Regions from separate parts of the Homo sapiens genome. Here regions 1 and 3 are each linked to region 2. Evidence: promoter capture Hi-C in human tissues and cell types (Jung and others, 2019). All regions are on one chromosome and are shown on one strand. Each heading gives the region's core, a stretch centred on a gene start or on the middle of the fragment in contact. The rest is flanking DNA. Distances are from core to core; before and after follow the strand shown.

Region 1 (3,202 bases), core at 208-2,707, 270 kb after region 2:
TAAAGACTTCACTGTGGCATAATTATAGCAAGGGAAGATAATACTTGGGCCTTGTTAGTCACTGGTAAAGAAGCAGAAATAAAACAGGTTAAGAAGGAAGTTAAAACAAAACAAAATATATCAACTATCCTTTTCCCCTGCTTTCCTCTCTTATGCCCTTCCAGTTCCTTTTCATTTATCTTTTCCCACTTTCATCACAAATTTTACAATAAAGTCACCTGTGAGAATTAAATGACATAGTATATATACAGCAATTAGCAGCATGCCTGGCACAGAGTAAGTACTCAATAAATGTTATTTTTATATTATTGTTATTATAGTTTTAAGTACCATAGTACTAAATAGACTCCTTGGAGATAAAACTGAAGCTTGAAGAACCAAATATGGCTTCATCAAACCTAAATATCTGATGTAATATAACATTAGAATAAGCAACACTGTAAATGCTAAGCTATTCTTTACAGTTTTAGATAATCACTATGTATTTTCCTAAATATAACTAATTATTAACAGGTACATTCTAGAATACTTACGATTTGTTTTGGTGAATATGCATTTCCTTCTACAAGTCAAAATAAGTATGAGAGCCTTAAGCTCCATCTTTTCACACGAAAATCCAAGTTTATTCTGAATATAGCTGAATAACGATTATGAACTGTGAGGATACCTGAGTATTTGGCTTCATTAAAAACATTTAAAATGACTGGGGCACTATTAATACACCAAAAGAGTCAACTTTATCTTACGAAAGAATAGATTGTGGACTATTCAAGTTTCTTTTTATCTACCATTTAATAAAATTCATTCACACTTGGAAAAAAATTATCTGTGGCTATCATTAATCATGCTATTTTTTCTCCTTTATCAGTATACAGAAGTCTGCTGTAATTTCCTTGGGATACAAATTGTCCAACACAATTATACTTAACATAATGATTTTATTACAGCTGATAGTAAGGGTAATTGATATTGTATGAACAGCGAACAGAGTAAATATGAAGGTTTTTCATAAAAATGAAGATGTACAAAAAATATGTTACCATGTAAGATTGTCTTCTCCTCCCCAGGTTTCTCTTCTTCCTGTTTTCCTTTTTTCTGCCTCTTTGCTGTGATTTCATCCAATTCTTTTTGCTCTTCCTAAGAAAATTAAGGAGTGAAATTTAAAATGAATGTTCTAGAACCTCATTATACCTAAAGTTGGTTATAAATTCTTTATAATGACTTCTACATATCTGGTCCGAGTATGTTCCCAGGATAACAAGCTCAACACTTTTTTTTTTTTTTTTTTTTTCTGAGATGAGTCTCGCACTGTCGCCCAGGCTGGAGTGCAGTGGCGCGAATCTCTGCTCACTGCAACCTCCCTCTTCCTAGTTCAAGCAATTCTCCTGCCTCAGCCTCCCGAGTAGCTGGGACTACTCGGTGCACACTACCACGCCTGGCTAATTTTTTCTGTTTTAGTAGAGACAGGGTTTTACTGTGTTGCCCAGGCTGGTCTCGAACTCCTGAGCTCTGGCAATGCGCCCGCCTCGGCCTCCCAAAGTGCTGGGCTTACAGGCCCGGCCAAGCTCAAGTCTTCTATAAGCAGAGACTGATTACCTCTTCCACAAATTATGAAATGGTACTAAATACATAATGGATACTAGATAATACTTTTCAACTATATAAAATCAGTTTTCAAAACTTATCCTTCTGTGACACCTAGAAATAAATTTTAACATGTTATACTAGTTATACAAGTAAAAAGACAAGGCAATCAGAAAATCTAGTTTCAGAATGGAAACTGAATTTTAGCACATAATGTTGTTTTTCAGTTAATTGTTTTTACATACTCCTAAGGATATAAGTGATAGCTATACATTTGTGACACAATTTTTTTGGGAGGAGCTGGGGACAGAAGATGGGGTAGTAGTAAATCTCTATCTATAATAACAAGTCAACAGATAAAATCTAAAATAAAAAATAGTAGAATAAGTTTATTCATCTTAGATATCACCTGTTTATTTCTATTACTATAAACATGGATTTACTGGATGTAAGTAACAGCTAGAATATAAGCTTCATGAGGTCATGATTTTCTTGATCTTGTCCACTGCTGTATGCCTGGGACCTAGAACACTCTCTGGCTCATGGAGACAGTGAGATTAGGAGGTGAGGAAGGGAACGGCAGAGCATTTACTTTACAAACTTTATAGTAGTTTTTAAGATATATATAGAGATAAAATTTGTTGAAAATTTTAAATAAATTCATAAATCAATAAAATTTATAATCAATTCTAGTGTCACAGAAGGCTGATTTTGTAGTTACTATCTGAATGTCTAGTATCAGAAGAGTAGCTACCATGGCAGCTTAATAGCAATATCAAGGAAATCTTTATGAAAATTGTTCAATATTGTATTTTAATAAAAAAGCATGAGAGAAAACAAATCAGCAGAAAAGGTAAATAAAAATATCCCAAAGAAAAACAAATAAATTTTATTGTATATTTTCAATCAACTAAAGGCAGAAAAATTTTGATGAGTCATTTGGTTCTCTAAAGAAATCTCAAGTTTATTAATGTAGATATCCTTCATAGAGATACAGCGTATACCTGAATTGACAATTAAAAACATCAAAGCTTACTTCTGAAGGTTTGGCTACATCTTTTTCATCCACATATTTTGCCCATGGTCCCAAAAAACCATCAATATTGGATGCATCATTTTCTTTAAACTTTTTCCTCTTTTCTGTTTTCTTCTGACCAGTTTCAAATACAGTTAAACCTACGTTAACAAAAAAAAAATTAAAAAAAAAACTGAGAGATTACAAAGATGTACATTTTCTAAAGAAATATGAACATATGTTTAATTTTATTTTATATGGTTAAAGAAAGATGATTGTTCAAGTGACCCCAGAGTTATTAAAAAACAATCTACATGAATCTACCATATACGCTGACTCATGCTACAGAAAAAGGGATTCAACCTTCTGGGCAAAGACACTTAAAACTAATTCAATATTCTGCAAATTCTAATACTGTATACTTAAAGAAGAGACCCAAATATGTACTCCTACAATGGCGCACAAGCCTTTTATTGAATCAAAAAGCTGTGTCAGTGGATTTGTACGACTTTCTGGAAAAAACTCAGAAACTCATTATTGCTAAGTAATAATAAAGTGACATTTGGAAGCAAGAATAAACTGTAATTTATCATTTTAAAACTA
Region 2 (3,242 bases), core at 619-3,118:
CAAGTACAAGTTTGCGCCTGTTACTCTTCTGCTTTAAGACTGTCTACAGGGAGTTCTCCTTGTCCTTTGGTCAAAGTAAAATGTTCAACACAGCCTTGCAAGATCCTGCCGCTTCTCGGAGCCATCAGACCCACTCTTGATGCTCTGCTCTGGTAGAGCTCTGCCCTGGCCCTCAAACTGTTGGACTTCTCTGAGAAAGCGATAGGTGTGCTCAGATTTTAAGGATGAGGTGGAGAAGTTCAGAGAGAGGGCATTTGCTATGGAACTGAGGCTACCAAAGTGACGAAGAGAATGCATCCCTGTTCTCTAGGAACTCAAGGTTTAGTGGCCTTATAGAGTGGAATAGCACGCCAACAGTGGGGCCAGTGACTGCCAGGCTGACTAGAGAAGGCAACTCTCACTGTGGATATAGTCGGAAACTGGCTTTTCTGCTTCAGCGCTGTGGACCAGCAATTGACCTTTCTTCCCTAAAGTTCATTCACTTGATACCTTCCAGAAGGAAGGTCACCCCCTGCCTGGGTTGGCTATGGGCCAAACCCCTGCCCACTCCAAAGTGTGGCTTGGAATGCCATGGTCTGCTTATTAAAAATCAGATTTCGGGAGGCCAAGGCGGTCGGATCACGACGTCAGGAAATCGAAATCATCCTGGCTAACACGGTGAAACCCCGTCTCTACTAAAAATACAAAATATTAGCCGGACGTGGTGGCGGGCACCTCCCCGCTACTTGGGAGGCTGAGGCAGGAGAATGGTTTGAACCCGGGAGGTGGAGCTTGCAGTGAGCCGAGATTGCACCACTGCACTCCAGCCTGGGCGACAGAGCGAGACTCCGTCTCAAAAAAAAAAAAAAAAAAAAAAAAAAAAAAAAAAAAAAAAATCAGATTCCTGTTCCCCAGGCATCCTGAATCATCAGGGATGGAGTCTCAAAATAAATGTACATTTATTTATTTTTTATTTTTGTATAGACGAGGTGTCGCTATACGTTGCCCAGGCTGGTCTCAAACTCCTTGGCTCCAGCAATCCTCCTGCCTCGGCCTCCCAAAGCACTGGGATTATAGGCCTGAGCCACCACGCCGGCCTAATTGTACTTTTATTTTTTTGAGACGGAGTTTCACTCTTGTTCCTCAGGCTGGAGTGCAATGGCACGATCTTGGCTCACCGCAACCTCCGTCTCCAGGGTTCAAGCGATTCTTCTGCCTCAGCCTCCCGAGTAGCTGGGATTACAGGCATGTGCCACCACGCCCGGCTAATTTTGTATTTTTAGTGGAGACGGGGTTTCTCCATGTTGGTCAGGCTAGTCTTGAACTCCCGACCTCAGGTGATCCGCCCGCCTCGGCCTCCCAAAGTGCTGGGATTACAGGCGTGAGCAAGTGCGCCCGGCCTTAAATGTACCTTTTAAACCAAGTTCTGCAGTAGATTCTTAGGCATTAAAGTTTGAGAGCCATGTTTCTGAGGGGCGTCATGCTGAAGGCTATATATTCTTGCGGCCCCCGGACCGAGCCTAGCCCTTGCATTCCCACCCTGGGCTCTCTCTCAGCGACAACTTTTCCCAGGCGTCGGGGCTTCCCTCGAGCGTGGCGACCCCGCAGACATGGTGCCAAGAGCCAGGGTGGGCGGCGGGGCGGGTGGGAGAGCGGCGGCGCTGGGGGCGAGGGCACCATGCGACCGCGGGCGCCGGGACCACAGCGCGCCGGGAAGGAGGCCGAGGCGGCAGGAAAAAAGCCGAAGATACTTGGGGGGACCGAGGGGCCAAGCGACGGAGGGAGGAACAGAATACAGCCTCGCGCTGGTCCCGAGCACTGGGACGCGCGGGGAGAGCAGGAGGCCGGGCGGGGAGGTTCGGGGCGGGGCGCGCTACCCGCAGTCCCCGGAGCTCGGCTAACTCGGCGCCCAGTGCACGGCCGCACCATGGGGTCCCGCCACTTCGAGGGGATTTATGACCACGTGGGGCACTTCGGCAGGTATGGGGGAGGGGCCCCGCGGCGCCACGCGGGAGGCGGCGCCGAGGGGTCTGTTTCTTTCCGTTGCGGCGGGGTTCTCGCGCGGCGCTCGCGATCCGAAAACATCTCCACTTCCTCCTCACCCCGCGCAGTCGGGACACGGGCGTCCAGACGCCGGCCCCTAGCTGGGCTTCTCCTCTAGGCCTCTGGCAGCGGGACCTGGCATGGTGAGCAGAGGCGCTGGGCTCGCTCGGAGTGCGCCTGTTGCCGGGCAGGAGGGACCTGGTGCGTGCTCTCCGCGGCAGCAGATGCTGGAGGCATCTGGCTGGAGATCTGGCTCGAGGGGCCAGATCTCACTCGTAGGGGGTGCCTGTGCCTGGCCGCCCGTTTCTCTAATCCGCCGCCACTTCCCTAGACGGCTGCTGCCCAGTTCTGCCCTGCGCCTCCGTAGGGCCTCCCTCTGTGCCTGGCAGGTGTTCCCCAGGGACAACCGTTAGTCAGAGTTGGTTGCCGTTTATTAAAACCTAATACGTGCCAGGTACACTGTACCTGGCGCTTACACATAGTTCTTCATTTGATGTTCACCGGGACCCTGCAAAGGAGGTGTTCAAATCCTTATTTTAGTGATTGGGAAACAAGCTGGCGGGGTCAAGGACTCATAGCCAACGCATGGTGGAACCACGTTTAACCTCCGTACACCCTCTTTTCATTTGTCAAATTGATTTAAAAAATTTAAATTATTCATTCGTTCGTTCACTCATGGACAGAGCTCCTCTATCTGACTCAGAGTGTTTTGAGAGGGGAGGTAGCCGGGTGAGGGGCCATGCAGCGTTATGGCCGGAGATTTGGAGCTGCGTCTCGATCCTGGCCTGCTACTTACCTCTGATATGATTCTGGAGATACTTTGTGTGTCAGTTTCCTATCCAGAAAACGGGAATCAGGCTTAGCAAAGAGATGATGTGGTGCTGTTCTTCAAGGTGGAAGGTTGCATGCGTTTTGGTTTTGATTCCCAGTGTCTGCAAAAAGGAGCTGTTAGGACAGAGGAAACGGGCAGGAAGCCCCAGCTGTTCCCTTCTTCCTCTGCTTGCATCATTGAACGCTGCCTTGTGCCTGGCTCGGTCATAAGCCGTTGGTACATGTTACTTCCTTTAATCTTCACTACAGCCTTATAAGGTTGGTAGTATCACCCTCTTTTCACAGATGAGAAAACCAAGGTTTCTGCCTAAGCACAAATCTAATACTAGCAGGGCAGAATTGGATGCCATTGGATGCCCATCACCTCCACAGCCCACACTCTCAACCAT
Region 3 (3,133 bases), core at 235-2,734, 300 kb after region 2:
CCCCCTTTTTTTCCTGAGAGTTCATTTTCCCTAAAGTTACCGCTTACGTCCCTCTTATGAGGACATTTCTTCTTTCTGGACCTACCTCTGAAAAAGAAAGTAGTCTTGATCCTTTCACACGTGCCTGTTCTCAGAAGCAAGATTTTTTAGTCTCTTAAAGGCGTTATTTTTGTGATGGGTTTTTTGTTTGTTTTAATTTTTAAAAATAAACTCCCAGCACTGTCAAGAAACAGGATTTTTCTTTTGGATTGTTTCCTTTGTTTCCTTATTTTGAGCTATTGGTAAAGTCAGGGTAGATTTTATTCATACTTTGAAGAAAGATCATATCCAGTCAGTCTCCATAGAATTTTTTTAAGGAAAAAATTTTGGAATGAGGTCATGAAGTGGGAGTATGAAGATATAAAGATGGATTATTGCCCCATAAAATACGGGGCATCTTGTATTTGTAGCAGCCTTACCTGGGGTGCTATGGAGCTTTGGTATGGATGTGATGGAGCTGAAGGCAGATTGAGAAAGTGAATCTGTGAACTCCTTGAGGACAGTTTTGTTGTAAGCGTTTGGTTGTTTTGTTTTGCTTTGCTTCATTTTTGTGTTCCCAGTGCCTGTTTTTGGTTTAAGCTAAATGGATTTTGAGTGTATGCAATTACTACAGAATAAAAGAGAAGTCATTCTGTTCCATGTGGAAAGATCAGGGTGCTGTGAGGGAAGAGGTCATGAAACAGCTATTTTTGTCATATGCATTGGAGTATTTAATAATTATTTGGAGATCAGTGATATTCAAAAATAATGTGTAACATGGTCCAAAAGGAAAAGAAGTGACATTGCTTGCTTGCTAGATGTACAAGATTCTGTATAGATGCTGTCACATTTATTATTTATCTTGTTTAATTGCTATCATAGCCCTATAAGGATTTAATTGAAGAAAAAGGTTAACTGAATTGAACAAGTTGTTTGTTCTGCCTAGCGGAAGCCCAGATTGTTTCAGAACTGCTTTATCTCCCCTTTTACTGATAAGTTTCTGTTGGAGCAGTCATTTTAATAACTTGATAATAACAATTCTGCCTGCCTGCTACTGTCCCCTCATTTGTAATTGGTTCATTTAGTGGGTCCCCCTTGTTAAACCAGTGATTCATAGTTCATAATCAGCACATAATTATTGAGGGCCAAGTAGGTGCTAAAAAGGACAGGTCTCTATTCTCTTGGAGTTAACAGTATAGTAAAAAACAGGTGTTGAACAAATACATTTGTACTTAGAAATTTTGGTGAATGCTGTAAAGGAAAAGAAGAGGGAACTGGATTTACACTGGGAGTCAGGGGAGGCTTCTTAGAGGCAAGATTAGTGGAAGTTAGCTAGGTGGAAAAGGAAGAGAATTCAAAGAACAGGTGAAACAGTTAAAGCTTAGTGTAAGAGGGATTGTGACTTGATATGAGGTTGCAGAGGTAAACAGAAGCCAGACTATGCAGAGGGCCTACGTGAGGTTTGGTTTAACGAGGTTAAGGATTTTAAGTCTATTGGGGAAGGCCATGAAGAGTTTTAATCGGGTTAATTACTGGATCAGATCTGTCTTTTGTAAAGATCACTTTGGCTTGGAAGGGGCCAGAGATACCAATCACAATTCTGTTCATTTCTGTGGTTTATTGGCCTGGTTTTAGACACTTTTTTACTAAGCCAAGTCACTCAGAACTTTTCCTGGGTCCTCCATGCCCAGAGGTTGAATAATTTGTTTTCTCTTCAGTTGCTGAAGCTGTGAGATACAAAACTCTGGAACTGTTAATGGCCTTGTTTCTTGCCCTGTGGGCTAGATAAGCCAGGGCTTCTAGAACAAAGAGTGCAAAGAAGCAGATGCACAGAGTCCTGACTGTATTTGAGTTCCTTTGTCCATGGTCCTGAGATTGGGTTCCAGAGACATCCTAGTTACCTTTGTCATAAGTCCTCCTTTTTGCGTAAACTGTTAGAATTGTATTTGTGGTACTTGTCAACCAGCAAACTGAGTCCTCTCATAGATCAAGTAATTTGCTCAAGGTCACATGGCTAATAGAAATGGAGGTGGAATTTGAGCACAGATATGTGTGATTTCAAAGTCCCATTTTTTTCCTACTCCCTTATGCTGCAAAGGTACCATTTCTTAAACTAAAGGTCCTAAAGAAATTCTAAGTAGGTGGGTTTTGGGTGTGATGACATCTGTTGGATGATGATGACAGCAAAGTTTTTTTGTTTTTTTGTTTTTTTAATTTGGTGTGCTTGATAGTAGTTAGTCCAGCATGTAGCCATTCTTTATTCCTAACCTAGCCAGGTCTACTCCAATAAAGTTACATTGACTAACTTATTTGAAAAGAAGAAAAGCTTATGTGTCAGGGCATGGAATAACTTGTTTGATTCCTTTACCAAAAAAGTCAAGTGTGTTATGTTTTCACCTTATGCTACAAAAGTAAGTTTGTTTTCTAGTTGTTTTAATAGGGACATCTTGCTAAATTTGTTAAATTTGCTAAATTTTTATAACATGCATGTGCTACAGGTTATGCCAGAGAATTGTGAAAGGGTTAAACGAAAAGGGAGGAACAGTGAAGCATTTTATATTTTAGTCGAGGATGAAGACTAGCACTCACTTCTTAAAATTATTTTTATAGATTTAGAGGGTACACGTACAGTTTAGTTACATGGATATATTGCATAGTGGCAAAGCCTGGCTTTTTAGTATAGTGTACATTGTACCCATTAAGTAATTTCTCACCCCTCACCCACCATCTATCCTTCCACTCTTCAGAGTCTCCATTATCTATTATTCCACTCTTTATGTCCATGTATACAAATTATTTAGCTCCCACTTATAAATGAGAAAATATGGTATTTGACTTTCTGTTTCTGAGTTAGTTCACTTAGGATAATGGCCTCTGGTTCCATCCATGTTGCTGCAAAAGAGATTATTTCATTCTTTTTAATGGCTGAGTAGTATTTCATTGTTTGCATTTAAATTTTCTTTAATTATCCATTGATGGACACTTAGGTTGATTCCATATCTTTGCTATTTTGAATAGTGGCACTGATTTTTTTTTAAACCAAAATAAAAGCCCTGTGTGGTACATCATAATACACAACTACAAATTTATCAATTTTGTTATTTTCAAGGAATCT

Evidence for each region. The method cuts DNA at HindIII sites, captures the fragments that hold promoters and counts their contacts. A contact is called where the count stands out against the background at its distance.
Region 1: a fragment that was not itself captured here is called in contact with the fragment with the promoter of SLC22A16 in region 2 in 2 of the 25 tissues and cell types used here (aorta and small bowel).
Region 3: a contact is called between a fragment that was not itself captured here and the fragment with the promoter of SLC22A16 in region 2, in 2 of the 25 tissues and cell types used here (neural progenitor cells and thymus).

The regions. Positions count from the first base shown.
Region 1 is chr6:110,208,642-110,211,843 of GRCh38, reverse strand. It overlaps CDC40 (cell division cycle 40), which reads right to left. Exons shown (of 15, transcript NM_015891.3): 5 at 2,621-2,760; 6 at 1,041-1,137. Among named protein-coding and RNA genes, the nearest start is that of CDC40, 30 kb to the right of the region's middle. The HindIII fragment of the contact is 3,610 bases long and covers 1-3,202 here.
Region 2 is chr6:110,475,239-110,478,480 of GRCh38, reverse strand. SLC22A16 (solute carrier family 22 member 16) reads left to right here and starts at 1,868. Exons shown (of 8, transcript NM_033125.4): 1 at 1,868-1,959. The coding sequence starts at 1,907. LOC105377938 (a long non-coding RNA gene) reads right to left here and starts at 2,964. Exons shown (of 2, transcript XR_942860.3): 1 at 2,819-2,964. The HindIII fragment of the contact is 19,647 bases long and covers 1-3,242 here.
Region 3 is chr6:110,172,409-110,175,541 of GRCh38, reverse strand. All of the region lies in intron 2 of WASF1 (WASP family member 1), which reads left to right. Among named protein-coding and RNA genes, the nearest start is that of WASF1, 5.7 kb to the left of the region's middle. The HindIII fragment of the contact is 5,240 bases long and covers 1-3,133 here.